2 separate regions of the Homo sapiens genome follow, and region 2 is linked to region 1. The links are contacts of gene promoters, found by promoter capture Hi-C in human tissues and cell types (Jung and others, 2019). All regions are on one chromosome and are shown on one strand. The core of a region is centred on a gene start or on the middle of the fragment in contact, and the rest is flanking DNA. Distances in the headings are between cores, read along the strand shown. Region 1 holds the start of HMGB4 (high mobility group box 4). Region 2 overlaps LOC105378641 (a long non-coding RNA gene).

Region 1 (7,184 bases), core at 2,385-4,884:
TTGATGATGCTTACTTCGATCACTTGGTTAAAGTGGTGTCTGCCAGATTTCCCCGCTGTAAAGTTACTATTTGTCCCTTTCCATGTTCTATTCATTAGTAGTGGGTGGCTAAGTCCAGCCCACACTGGAGAGGGGGAGTGCCATCTGTTTTTATTCCTATCATTTCAATTTGTTTAATCCTCATGGCTTTATTATCACCTCACTACTTTTTAGAGATATGGTTGTAATGAGCTAGACTTGCCCAAAGTTACTCAGCTAGTAAATGGCAAAGCTAGAATTTGAACTTATATGTGTCTGGCTTAAAAGGCCATGTTCTTTCCACTTCATGTTACTGCCACCAAGTAAAGAGGATCTCACAGTCTCCGAGGCGGAAGCTCCCTCTCAGCTTGTCTGGACAGTGTTTTTCAAATCCATTCTTGGAGTGTGACCCATCAGTGGGTCATGAGGTCAGTCTGTGGGTGGCATTTTAAATAACAACATAAAGTAAAGGTGACTACAACAGAGTAGAAAATAAGAGTATGTCACACAAGTAGAAATTTTTTATCTCTATATCTTCTCTGTGCTTTGCTACCTTCATCTGAATTCACTTATCCTTGTATGGAGATAAAAATAGCCCTCCCATAGGCTTGTTATGAGGACTGAATGGAATGAGGTACATAAAGTGCTTAGAAGAGAGACTGGCTCATATTAAGCATTATATAAATATTAAGTATGTATGTATGTAAACGAGTCATGATGTAAAATGTATTTCTTATTGCAGACTGCAATCAAGATGTTTGAAAATACTGAACTCACATCTGTAGACGAGGAGTTGGCAGATTTACGACCCCCAGCTTGCAGCCTATTTTTTAAAAATAAGGTTTTATTGGAACATAGCCACACTCATTGGTTTAGGTATTTTCTATGGTTACTTTCGAGGTATAGTGGCAGAGCTGGGTACCTGCAACAGAAACCCTGTGGTTCACCAAGCCTATCATATTTACTACCTGGCCCTCTAGACCAATGCTCCTGCCTGGAGGTCATCTCATAATCTAGGGAATATTGGACACCTCTTCCCGGGCATGTGGTCTGGTCATGCTACTGTCCTTGCAGGCATGCTTGCTCTAGGCTGTGTGACTGCCAGGCACTTGGATCTCCAGAAGCTCATTACTCTTCTCTATTAAACTGATGCCTACATGGTGAAAGGCTAAAACCATGGTACTTTGGTCAGGGTCCCCGCAGGAAACAGATGGCCACTCAAATTAAAATGATTGGTGAGGGCAGAGTGTGGGAAAGTAGCAGAGACCTCAGAGGCTCATAAAAGTAGAGTTTTACCACCCTAGGCAGGAGGAGATAAAGAAAGGGGGCAATGCCTGTACTGGAAGGAGAGAGTCATTTAGAGAGGACACCTTATGAGGACCAGTGACCTTCAGTCCAGGGACACAGAACCAGCTCCAAGTGACCCTGGGGTGGGGATCCAGGAGAATAAATGCCTTGACTTAACTTTCCTCCATCTCTGATCTCCTGAGGGCCCCATTGACCAAAGTGAGATGGAAACCAGAGGGTATGGGATCCTCTGATGTGGCTCATACAGACCAGCTTCCCAGGCCAGAGAAGGTTGAAGAGAGGTTGGAGAAGGCTGGAAAGGGGATCTGGAAGGGCAACTCTTAGATACCCAGCACACAGCATTGATTTAGGAAGCCAGATTTATTTACCTTTCCTAAGCTCCCCTAAACAAGGACTTCCCCTGCTTCATCCTCCAAGTTGGAACTTTGACAACACCAAAAGGTTGACATAGCTTTTCCCTTTTACTGCCTTTTCTTCTTAAATCTGCTAGCTTCCCGATAGCTATTGTGGGTTAATCTTCCTGGATCTTATCATGAGAGGGATGGAAGGTTAAGAGGCACAGATAAGCTACTCTGTGTGTGTGTGTGTGTGTGTGTGTGTGTGTGTGTGTGTGTGTGTGTGTGTGTCTGAGCCTGAGCAGAGTCTGATGAATATGTGGACTTTCATTAAAGTTCTTCCTCATGTCCCATCTTTTGATCTCAGAAAGGAGCTGTGTCCCATTCATCTAGGCAGCCCTGCTCATGTCCAAAAAATGTGTGAGTCAACCTCTGGCCCCTTGGGAGAAAGAGCCAGGGGGAAAAAGGCTACCTAGGCTGAGAAGTGTCCCCAGAGTAATCCGTTCCTTTGCGAGACCCCCTACTAGCCCAGACTTCCTTGATGGCACCTGATATCTTATAGGCCCCCAAATCCTGCCACACAACTACAGCTTGTCCCCTGGAGGGGCTTCCCTGGCCAGTCCAGAATGCTCAATTTATGAGAGATCATTGGCTCACAGGGAGGAAGGGGATGGCTTAGGTAGGCCAGCCACCTTGCAGCAGAGCTGGGCAAGAATTCAGGATTGGAGACTCTTATTAGTTTCCATCTTTCTTTTACAGAAGATGAACACTGAAGTCTTGGAACCCTGGGAATGAACCTGGAAAAATTCAAAATATGGTCTAGTCTTAGGCAAGTTTCCTTGTCCGGCTCAGCTGCTGAGACCACATATCTGGACCCTCAGTGCCCTGGCAACAGCTCTGTGCAGGCAGGATGAAGCACAGGCTTAGGTCAAGCAATCAGCCGTCAAAATCCACACTCTCACCTGTGAGTGGCTGTTCAACCTTGAACATGTTACTTTTTATGTTAATGAAACTCAGTTTTCTAGTCCTATAAATTTGGGGCTATCATCAACCATTAAGTGATATTAAACCCAGTGCCACACAGGCAAGTACCTAGCAGTGTCCAAAGGCCCCCAGAATGACACTTTTTCATCTTTTCTCTTCCCTCCAATTGAAAGACTAGTGGAATATCTGCAATTACTTTGACCAAAAGCCAGAAGCCGGCCAGTTTGAGTGTAGCTGTTACAGCTTTGTGTTCTAAACCTAAGAAATGGGGACCCCTCACATGAGAGTGGGGAGGCTTCTGGATGTGCTACAAATTCCATTTCATTTTCATGAACTCCAGTGTTAATTAATAAAATCTCAAGGTTCTCCCCCCTCTTTCGCCTCACATTTCTTCAGAGAAATGAAGAGTTCCAACTCATAGCCCAAGTGCTCAGGTTTTAAATTAGACAACTTTGTCCTGACAGGAACCAAGTCACAGCTGTCATACCTGATTACTTTTAGAGTTACTACTAAACCCTTTGTATGGCATGAGCTGCCACTGTTCAAGGCAAACAGAAACACTTCACATTTTATCATGACAGCCCTGGATCTATCCACCTCCCCATGTTCATTATGCTCAGCCTGTCTTTGGAAGGGATGATGAGGCATCCTGAAAATCGTATAGTGAGGAAGGCAGACCCCATGGCCTGTCACTACAGCCTAGGGATTTTAAGCCCCTAAAGTGCAGCAAAACCCACTGCCTCCAGGAAGCCAAGGAGAATTATTTCTGGGGGACATAGCTGCCTCATAGCCTACTATGAATGAACCATCATCTTTCATGAGAGGCAAACATTGACCCTCAAGTAACCAACCAATACGAGCACCTGTACACAAATGCCCACAGGTGTTGGCTGGGATTGGCTGGCTTGTGGATGATGTCACAGTTTCCCTCCTCTGACTCAACAATGCCATCAGCACTGAAAAGGCTGAGCCCTGACTACAGCTCTTGCAGACAGAAAAATTCGCTGCAAGTACAGCACTTTCTAGATTGCTCCTGGAGTGTGGGAACAACAGTCTCTCCTGTCCACGTTACTGAATCCAGAAAAAAGGTGAACTTACGAACATGGGAAAAGAAATCCAGCTAAAGCCTAAGGCAAATGTCTCTTCTTACGTTCACTTTTTGCTGAATTACAGAAACAAATTCAAGGAGCAGCAGCCAAATACCTATGTTGGCTTTAAAGAGTTCTCTAGAAAGTGTTCGGAAAAATGGAGATCCATCTCAAAGCATGAAAAGGCCAAATATGAAGCCCTGGCCAAACTCGACAAAGCCCGATACCAGGAAGAAATGATGAATTATGTTGGCAAGAGGAAGAAACGGAGAAAGCGGGATCCCCAGGAACCCAGACGGCCTCCATCATCCTTCCTACTCTTCTGCCAAGACCACTATGCTCAGCTGAAGAGGGAGAACCCGAACTGGTCGGTGGTGCAGGTGGCCAAGGCCACAGGGAAGATGTGGTCAACAGCGACAGACCTGGAGAAGCACCCTTATGAGCAAAGAGTGGCTCTCCTGAGAGCTAAGTACTTCGAGGAACTTGAACTCTACCGTAAACAATGTAATGCCAGGAAGAAGTACCGAATGTCAGCTAGAAACCGGTGCAGAGGGAAAAGAGTCAGGCAGAGCTGATGGATCCAGTTTGAAAAAACAAAATGCCATTCAACCGTATTTCCTGTTCCTGGTCTCATGTGTGGCATTAGAGTAGCTGTGACTGATGCTTTGTGGAGGAGGGAGTGGCTTGGTAGAGGAGAGACTGATCCTGAGGAGGGGAACGGAGAGGACGGGAAGGGAAAGAAGGGGAAGGGAGGAGAGGAGGGAGGGGAAGGGAAGAGAGGGGAAGGGAAGGGAAAGGAGGGGAATGGAGGGGAGGGAAAGGGAGGGAAGGGCTGGCTTTGAGAGAAGTGTCAGCAGTAAACAAAAGGTGTGACTTGGGCCACTGGGTGGGAGCCTCCAGGTGTAAAGTAGCAGCAGTCATGGAGGTAGAAGCACCGTGGTTCTGAGTGGTGATCCAGGTGAGAGGACCCTACTCAGTGTCAGGTTCAGGAACATGACGTCTGACTCTGCTAAGCAGTGGCAGGACTGGGAAGACTGCCAGGGCTAGAAGGCCTAGAGTTCAAGCTCACACTTGAGGCCCCAGGAGAAACATATGGCATCTGAGTTGAGACAGGCCTGAGGGAACCCAGGATTTCCAGCAACACTTAGATACGCTCAGTGGGGCCAGGGTGAACTCCCAGGGGTGTTCCCTAATCAGGAGGAGGCAAGGGGCAGATTTTACCAAAAAAAAAAAAAAAAAGCAGGGGGCTGGGGAACCAGATCAATCGTTTTTCAGTGGATAGATGTATAATATGTGGCCTCCACTCCTCTTCCTCTTGTTCATAGCACTCTGACTCCCTTTCGTGACCAAGGCTGGATAAGAGGGCAGGATCGCCTTGGCCACAGTCATTGGCTCAGTGGTGGGCATGTGACCCAAGTTGGTCCTATCAGGGTGGACCTCTGGACCTGTGTAAGGAGTCCTGGGGGACACCGCAGTCCAGGGAATGTGGACAGCCATTTGCCATCTCATAGGGCCCAAGAAGGAGGCCGAGATGCTAGAATCCCTGTGGCATCAGAACAGTCTCCTAAACTTTTCATTGAAGATGAACAACACATTTCATTTTTTCCCTGACATGGTTTGACTTAGGTTTTTTCCTACTTGACTATAATTTGACACAAATGGGATTGTGCTGTAAGTGTCTGTCTGGTAACTAGATTTTTCAGGCAAGAATATACTGTAGGCAACATTCCATACCAATCAATAAAGATTGAAATGGAATATTTTGAAATGGTTCTTCTGACTTCTTGACATCAAAAATACTGGGCCAAAATGCAAAGCTGCTTTTTTGTCACCAGTTTATACATGCAACAGATCTCCCTAACTCCACCTCTAAGGACCCCTATTCCATGATAGAGGGACCTACACTTTCTACTCTACTGCGCTGAACAGTAAAAATACATATTTTTGAACAGTCTTTTAGAACTGCATGAGCCTTTAGGGGATGAGAGGTAATACAGTGATTTAGAAATTCAGGGTCTGGAATCAAACAGGTCATTTGTGGAGGATTTTCATGTGCCAGGCCATTTGCTGGGTACAGGGAGGCACATTACGCACTACTGCTAAGTTCCCGCCCTATAAAAAATTTCCTTCTGACAGGAGAGATGGACTTGGGCATAAATTGCAGCACTGCAAAGCAAGATGATGAAAGTGAATGCAGAAAGTAATGGGGGAGGGACTGGGGACCACCCAGCAAGCCTGTGCTGCAGTCTTCATGAAGGAAGCAGCCTTATTCCACTTGACAACTTTGTAGGCATGCTGGCAAAATTCCCGTTCCGCATTCCCCACAGCTGCTATTCCAACTTGGCTCTGCTTCTCTTCCCTCTCAGGAGACGCCCGCATTTTCTGCTTCATTGAGAAAATAGAGATCCTCAGATATAAGTGCTCTCAGTTTCCTTCATTCTTGAAATGTAATCCATACCAATCCTTTCCTCCTGGTCTCACCCCTCACGGAGAGCTATCCCCCTCCTGCTCTTCCTGCCCTCTCCCTGCCTCCCTGGGGCCCTTGCTCCTTACTATAAGGGTGCTGGCCCTCCAGCCTGTACACTCATACAAGTTCACTTGATGCCATGATATGGTGGTCCCCACCTTAATGTTGGCAGAACTTAGGGCAAGTTCTCATTCCTCTGAGCCTCATGTTCTTATCTGTGCAAGGAGGATAATGCCTGCCTTACAGGTTGTTTTAGCAATTAACTGAGGTAATACATGTAAAAGTATTTGGCACAGTCCTAAATCTAATAGGTAATATAGCGGATATACTCTAGGGTGGCTGTTCCATAATCCTTTCCTCCTTTCTTGGTGTTCACACCCTTGTATAATCCCCTCCTATTAAGTGTGGGCTGGACAGGTGACTTTCTTCTAACCCATAGAATGTGGCAAAGGAGATGGGATGTCACTTCTGTGATTATGTGATGATAAATAATACTATATATTGCTAGCCACTTTGCTCTAGGGATTCTCCTTGCTGCTTGATGAAGTAAGTGGTCAAGTTTGAGAAGCCCATGTGGCAAGGAATGACAAGGAACTGTGGGAAATGTCTAGAAGCTGAGGGTGGCCTCAGACCATTAGCCAGTGAGAAACAGAAGTTCTCAGTCCACCAACCACAAGGAACTTAATATTGCAGCAGCCACACAAGTGGGTAGGTGAATCCTTCCCCAGTCAAGCCAGCAGATGAGAACTTGGCCCTGGCTGACCAAGGCCTGAAGCAATGCACACAGCTAAGCTGTTACTGGACTCCTGACCCCACAGAAACTGTATAAATGTAAGTTTAAAACTATAAATGTTTAAACCATATGAGTGTATTTTGTTTTAAGCCACTAAGTCTGTGGTAATTTGTTACACAGCAATAGAGAATACATTACTCAATAAATGCCCTCTTCCTTATAATTCTAGAAGAGACTGTCTTTAATCTTGT
Region 2 (7,184 bases), core at 2,161-4,660, 740 kb after region 1:
ATATAGATTTCTACCTATTCTAACCAAGACAGGCCAGTGATCTGTAACTAATCCTGTGCCTGGAGGGCAGAGCAGCCTCAATTCTGGGGTCTCAGGAGAAGAACATTGGAATGGCCTCTTTGTGGGGAAGCTCCTCCCTGCTCTCCATCTGTCCAGCCCCACCAAGCCCTGTAGCTGGTGATCATTAAGCAGTAAAGGCATCCCTAATGGTGGCTAATGGCGGGCTTAAGTACTAGTTACCTGAAAGAACCCCTGGGGTTGGCTCACTTACTGTATTGAGTGATCCTGCAGACCCACAGAGCCACTCTTTCTAATGAGGAGAGCGACTGAATGCTGAATTCAAGCCCAGAAAATGGCTGGGGAGAGAAGGGGAGCCTGCCAAGGCCCTCTATAAGGGTCCAATGTGAAAGCACAGCCCTCCTCTTGCTGTTCCTCTGTGGCTCCAGTTGCCCAGGCTGCCCTGAAGGGGTTGAATAGGGAATATGGCATTAATAGTTAGCAGCTGAGGCTTTCAGGCCAGCCCCAACTTTCACCTCCACTCTATCTCAGTCACCAATCCCATGACAACAGCCTGGAGCCCTTGCTTCCCCAGAGCTGCCCTGCTTCAAAAATCCATTCTGCATCTGGTTGCCTGCCTTCCAGGCTCCTCCCACCTGCCTCCCACCACTCCTGCCTTTCCTTGCATATTCTCTATACCAGTCATGACCACACATTTCTCCCAAGTGTTCAAGCCACAAACTTAGATATCCGTCCTCTCCTTTGAATCTATCACCAAATCCTACGATTCTTCCTTCTAAATGTCTCTTAATTCTACCCAGCCCTCTCTATCTTCCTTGGGCAACTTCCCATCATCTCTCACTTGGCCCACTTTGGTGGACCTCAATGGCAAGGACCCTGTTGTATCCATCTTTGTATCTCAAATGTTGGACCCAGGCCTGGCACAAGATAAGAAATCCTGAAATTCTTATCAAATGAATGGGCCAAAACATATTCATGGCATTGTTCTCAGTTTGCGTCCCTTCCCCAGTACTAGCTGTATGTACTTGGACTGGTCACTTGTCTGCTCTCAGCCTCTGAATCTCCACCTGATACGCAGAGAATTCAATCTCAAGTAGAATTGTTGTAGAGATAGAAGTAAATAATACTATAATAGAAGGAATTCGTTACGTTAATAACAAAATGAGAAACAATGACTTAAGCCAAGCAGGGCTTTTCTTTCTTCTCTGGTAAGAAGAAAGCCTCTAGAAGATGTTGTTGCTATGTTGGCCCAAAGGCACAGGGACATCTAGGCCAAGACTTCTACCACATTCTTAGCCTTTTCCTTATGATTAACTTGTGGTTGCAAAATGGCAGCTGTGCCTCCAACATCAGCCCACATTCCAGGTAGAAAGAAGGGGAAATGCCACGGGCAATGAACAAAAGGAGTTCATACTAACTGAATCTGCCATTTTTAAAGAACTCCATGCAGTTTCAATTTGGCCAAAAAATAAAGCTTTGGACCAGACATCAAATATCTGCCTCAATGGCTGTATCAGTCAAGGTTTTTGTTAAAGGTACTGGAAACATCTCTGGCTATATTAATTTTTAAGAGAATTTCTCTTGGGAGGCTGAGGCAGAAGATTCGCTTGAACCTGGGAGGCGGAGGTTGCAGTGAGCCGAGATCATGCCACTGCACTCCAGCCTGGGTGACACAGCGACACTCCATCTCAAAAAAAAAAATAGAATTTCTTAGAATGATATTGGAGGCTTACAAAATTATTAGGAGGCTAAGGTACAAGGGTTGGAAAATAAGCAAGAACCAAGGGCTCCCCCAAGGGCCAAAACACAGGAAATGATCTGGCTAGGATGCTATGGTCACTGCAGAAGAAGGACACTGACATTAGCCACAATTGCTGTTGCCACTGGGCACTACCATGGTTACCACAAATGAATTCCCAACCATTGGTGGGGGTTTTTGCATTACATGCTCCAGACTGAAAGTCCTGGGCAGCACAACCAATTGGCCAAGCTCAGTGTATCAATCAGGGTCCTGGCAGGAATTGGGAAGGGTTTGAGAAGAGTTTAATAAAGGGGCCATTTACAAAGGTGAGAGGAGGGTATAAGGAAACCAAAAGAATGGTTCAGCATTCTGGAGTTTGTAGTAGCAAAGTGCCATGATTGCCCACCCACAGGAGGCAAGGAACAGAGTGGTTACTGGAACCCAGAAAGAAAAGAAAGTTTTGCAGAGAGGGAGGGCCACCTACAGGAGCTGTAACTTTTCGTGGAGGGACACAGTCAGTCAGCCTAAGGTGACCTGCAGGGAAAGATCTAGGAAAATCAATGCCCTGACCTCACTCTTCCTTCTTTCTAACCTCCTACAACACTCCTCTTTGACCACACCCACCTGAAACCCAAAGGACAAGGAGCTCTTTGATCTAGTGGGGAAAGGCCAGCCCCTGGGGACACAGAACAGAGTGGAGAATGGTGGCAAAAGGATCTGAAGAAGCCAATAACAATATCTAGCACAAGCCACCCTTTTTACATCTCAGCATCTACTTTGGTCATTCCTCTGGGTAAAAAGCTCATGTCTTCAATACAGAGAACACACAAAGTCCATCTCTTCTGTATCATTACAAGGTAATGTCAATTCAGTCAAACTCTCTACTGAAACCTAAAAGAGGAATACCACCAGTATTCTTCATATAAGGTAGTAGAGGAGGAGAAAAAGAGAAAACTGCCGTAAAGCTTAGCTGCTACTCTCCATGCTTTTATAGCTGAACATGAGACATAAGTAGGTAATCCATAGTGCCCTCTTCTACTGCCAAATCTACGTACCCCTTGGCCTCTTGGAATGCCCGATGGGGTGACCTAATCCTTCATTCTTGTGAGATCTGAGTCCTCTGCAGTCTTGTCTTTATTGGGTTGCCACAGTTTTCCACTGGTCAGGACTATTGCACAGGTGAGTACTAACAGATGTTCCAGTGGCCCTGTGGTTCCAAGCAGGGTACTTCTTGCCCCTCTTGTGTGGCAACAAACCAATTTCCCCTGGCAGCCAGGATCAACTATCCTGGTCAGCACAGAGATGCCCCCTTCAGCCTGGTGGTTCAGCCACACAAGGATCCCAGAATGGCCAGGGGACTATCTCAGCTTCTAATTACTGGGAAGCCCAAGGTCAAGGAAACAGCAAGTGAAAGAATCTTCAAGTAGGTTACTGAGTGTAATTGTGAAAAAAACTACTTCCACCTCTTCCTTGGGGCCCAGATCCATTCACTTTGGCTATGGAACAGCACCAGACATTGACTACTGGTTTAAGACATACACCATACCCTGCAGAATCCAACCTCATCTTCGCAGATGCTATTCATCAATTGAGGCTATTCAGTTGTAACTGAACTTTCAGCAGACCTCTCCTTCACCTTATCAAGCCAGTTTCTTCTGGGTGATGGGGCATGTGGTTAGAATAGTGTGCGTGGTCTTTAGTTCAGTACCTTACTCCTTTGCCTTAAAAAGTTTGCCCTGGTTGGAAGTATTACTGTGTGGATATCAAGGGGATGATAAGTCCAGAAATGATGGTTCTGGACTTCAGCTGGTGCTGTAGGCAGGAAAAGAAAGCCTATATTTGATGTACAACCTACTCAGCCATGCCCAAACAATGTACCATGGGAGGGCTTTGTTTCACGGAAGTATTAGGAAATGCATTGGCAAGGAGGCAGAAGATTCATGGAAATCACTGGGCTTATCACCTGCCCCATTTCCCAGAAGGAGCTGGCCTGATAGGAAGGTAAAACAGTCTGCTGAAAGTTCAAAGCAAACGTCTCTGCTTGTGGATTATTATAGAAGTTCCACATTCCTTGTCTCTGATGGTTCGTCACCACCGTCTTGCCTCGACAGCACTGGGACCCCATTATACCACAGAGATCAAGGATCCTAGTTCCATCTCCAGCTTACAGATGACTCACTACAGAGCTCTTCAAGGATTCTGGTACCTATTGTCAATGCATTTTTCAACATCTTGGTGCACCCTCCACCCCCATGGTGTACCCAGGAAGATTTCACAGACTTTCTCCCTGCAGAACTCTTAGATCATCAGTACTAGCAGCCAGGGTGACTTCAAGTGGTCATCAAGCACAGACGTGCGTGCACTGCAGGCAAGTCTTACTAGTGTCCTAAGGGGCAAGCCACAGTTCAACACAATTCCCATCATCACCAATTCCCTCAGGTGAATTGGCCACCATGCCATTTTCCTAGATCACTAGGCAAAGCCACAGTCGGGAACTCAATGACACCCAAGAGAGATCTCCGACAGCACAGTTCACAGGGCACATTAACCAGCCCTCCAGGCCATTGGTAAACCACAGCCAATGGCAGCTGTAAATGACTTTGTGTACATACATATGTCACACTCAGCACATATAGCCTTTACACACCTCACCCTCATCACACCTGCACCCCTCAGAGGGGTTCCCCAGACAGCACATCATCAGCAATTCTACACACAGGCTTATACACAAATACACAGGCACTTGGATCTTTCTTTGAAATAGAGTTGTGCCACAGAAAACACTTTAAGCCGTCTGCTTAGAGAACTCAGAGATCTTGTGTGGGAGGCACGTCAGGGGCTGGGTGAGGGGAGGAATCTTGAAACCAGACATAAACGGAGTGGAGGCAGGCAGGTTTACCCTGAAGTTGTTTTATGTCTCTCACAATGGCTACCAACATCTCAGAAGTCAGGAAATTGAAAAGTGAGCATCTCATGCTATCCACTTAGCGGAGCGGCTATCTGGAATTGAATTCCGAGAGAGACAGAGAGAGAGAGAGAGAGAGAGAGAGAGAGAGAAAGAGGAATCATTTGTCCTCAGAGAAGGACTAAGAAGGATCTGTGCAATGAAGACAGCCCACATCCTAGAGATACCCAGATCTGGGTTACAGCTGCACTAATTAGCTGTGTGAGCTTGGGCAAGTTATCTCACCTCTCTGAGCTTCAGTTTCCCAGTTCTATAATAGGGTTACCGTGAGAGTTCAATAAGACAACTTTAGGCAGTACCTGGCATTCAGAAAGTGCCATTTCTCTTTTCTTCCCCCTTCTCATTAGGGAGAATGAGGAACGTGAAGCCTCCAGGGACACTGGGCCTCATACCCCACAATCAGGCACCAAATCCTAGCCACTCTATTGTAATTTTATTTCTGTCGCTAAAGTGCTTCACCCCTGAATACTGGATCTGAGTTTGACCCAGTATTTGGATATCTGCCAGTTTTTGGCTCCATGCTGGGATTTGGTTTTCTGCCTTCTCACATGAACTCTTTTTGCTGACTCTGCTTCCTGACTCAACTCCATTCTACCATTTTTCTATTTTTCTCTCTGTTTCTTCCTTCCTCCCTCCCCCCTTTCCTTCCTTCCTTCCCTCTTTTCTTCTTTCCTTCTTTTCTTTCCCTCCTCTCTCCTTCCTTCTCTCCCTGTCTCCCTCCTTCCTTCCTTCTCTCCTCTGTCCCTCCTTCCTGTCCAGAATAGCTCTGAAAAATCTGCAACATGTCCAATGCCGTGCTAGGCACGCAGCCTAACAGACAGTCCCAGAAACAAGACAGATGTAGTCCCAGATCTCAAGGGCCTTCGTTCAGATAGGGGAGACAGAACATGAACAAATATATAACAGAATGTTAAAATGCAATTGTTAGCCAGGGCACCAAAAGACAATAGCTCTCATATGTCAAAGGAGGTTGTAGACCATATGCACAATTTGCAAAGGAGGTTGTAAACATCAGTTTCACATCCAGTGTATGCGCAGGTCAAGAGTTGGATTTGGGGAAAAAAATATTTTAGCAGAGAATTTATTGGAGTAAGCTGTGCTACGAATCCTACCCCTACCCAGGGTGGAGGAGAGGGAGGCTGTGGAAGGCCATGGGAGGTACAGCTATACTGACAGGTGTTTGGTTTTTCTTCACTTCTGGGCATCAAAGAGATTGTACTTCATCTACCTTACCTTGAAGTCAGGGATGGCATAATTTGCTTTGGCCACTGAAATGTGCCACTTGCAGATGGAAGCATTCCATGACAGGATTCAGCCCTGCTGCCCTCTCTTCCTTTGCTGTGACAATTGTAGAAACACTTTTTTTATTATTTAATTCTATTAAAGTCATTTAGCCCATTAATATTTATAACAATTACTGAAAAGAAAGAGGGGGTCATCTTAGGTCCTATCAACAGCATCTGAGTGACTATCTAGCAGCTACTTAAGGTAAAAATTATTTTCTCATATGAAGCAAAAGTTAAGTTCACTAAAAATAGTTGTTTTTTCTCAGGCAACAGGGTTTTTTGTTGCTGTTGTTGTTGTTGTTGTTGTTGTTGTTGTTTTGTTATTGCTTTTGAGATGGAATCTCACTCTGTCGCCCAGGTTGGAGTGCAATGGCGCAATCTCAGCTCACTACAACCTCCGCCCCCCAGGTTCAAGCAATTCTCCTGCCTCAGCCTCCCAAGTAGCTAGGATTACAGGTGCCTGCCACTGAGCCCAGCTAATTTTTATATTTTTAGTAGAGTCGGGGTTTCACCATCTTGGCCAGGCTGGTCTTGAACTCCTGACCTCGTGATCTTTCCGCCTTGGCCTCCCAAAGTGCTGGGATTACAGGCGTGAGCCACCGCGCCCAGCCTACAACAGGGTTTTTTATTGTGGGCAAACATAAAATTTACAGTTTTGACAATTTGCAAGTATATAGTTCAGTGGCATTCAATACATTCACATTGTTGTGCAACCAACATGACTATCCACCTGCAGTACTTTTTTGTACAACCATTTTTTATATCCAGGTGCCATAGATTAAAGCATCCTGGAGCACTGAGTCAACGCTTGGAGGACAACTGCTCTTTTGTGTTATCTGGACCCACAGTGGATTGAAAGCAAGAAATAAATTTGTATAGTATTAAGCCACTTTGGTTGGGGTCTGTTTGTTAGCTCAGCATTATCTAGCCTAGCCTGATGAGTACACAGGTGCTACCTCCTCACCCCAAATCAAGAGACTATGGCTTTGTGATACCCCCTGGAGAACGTAATGTGGGAATCCTGTAATCTCACTTGAGAAATCCAAATGTCAAGAGGCTGGCTGCCACAGCCTGTGATGCAGAGCTGAGGGCTACAGTCTGGAAAGTGACGTTCTTCCAGAGTTTGCCAGAGCAAAGGAATAACAAGACTTTCACATGAATCTGATATAAGTCA

What was found. The method cuts DNA at HindIII sites, captures the fragments that hold promoters and counts their contacts. A contact is called where the count stands out against the background at its distance.
Region 2: a contact is called between a fragment that was not itself captured here and the fragment with the promoter of HMGB4 in region 1, in 1 of the 25 tissues and cell types used here (dorsolateral prefrontal cortex).

What each region holds. Positions count from the first base shown.
Region 1 is chr1:33,860,445-33,867,628 of GRCh38, forward strand. It overlaps HMGB4 (high mobility group box 4), which reads left to right and starts at 3,635. Exons shown (of 1, transcript NM_001379301.1): 1 at 3,635-4,347. The coding sequence starts at 3,748. The coding sequence ends at 4,308. The region is part of intron 5 of CSMD2 (CUB and Sushi multiple domains 2); the gene reads right to left. The HindIII fragment of the contact is 11,719 bases long and covers 1-7,184 here.
Region 2 is chr1:34,598,516-34,605,699 of GRCh38, forward strand. It overlaps LOC105378641 (a long non-coding RNA gene), which reads right to left. Exons shown (of 9, transcript XR_001737964.2): 3 at 5,958-6,062. Among named protein-coding and RNA genes, the nearest start is that of MIR552, 68 kb to the right of the region's middle. The HindIII fragment of the contact is 6,543 bases long and covers 140-6,682 here.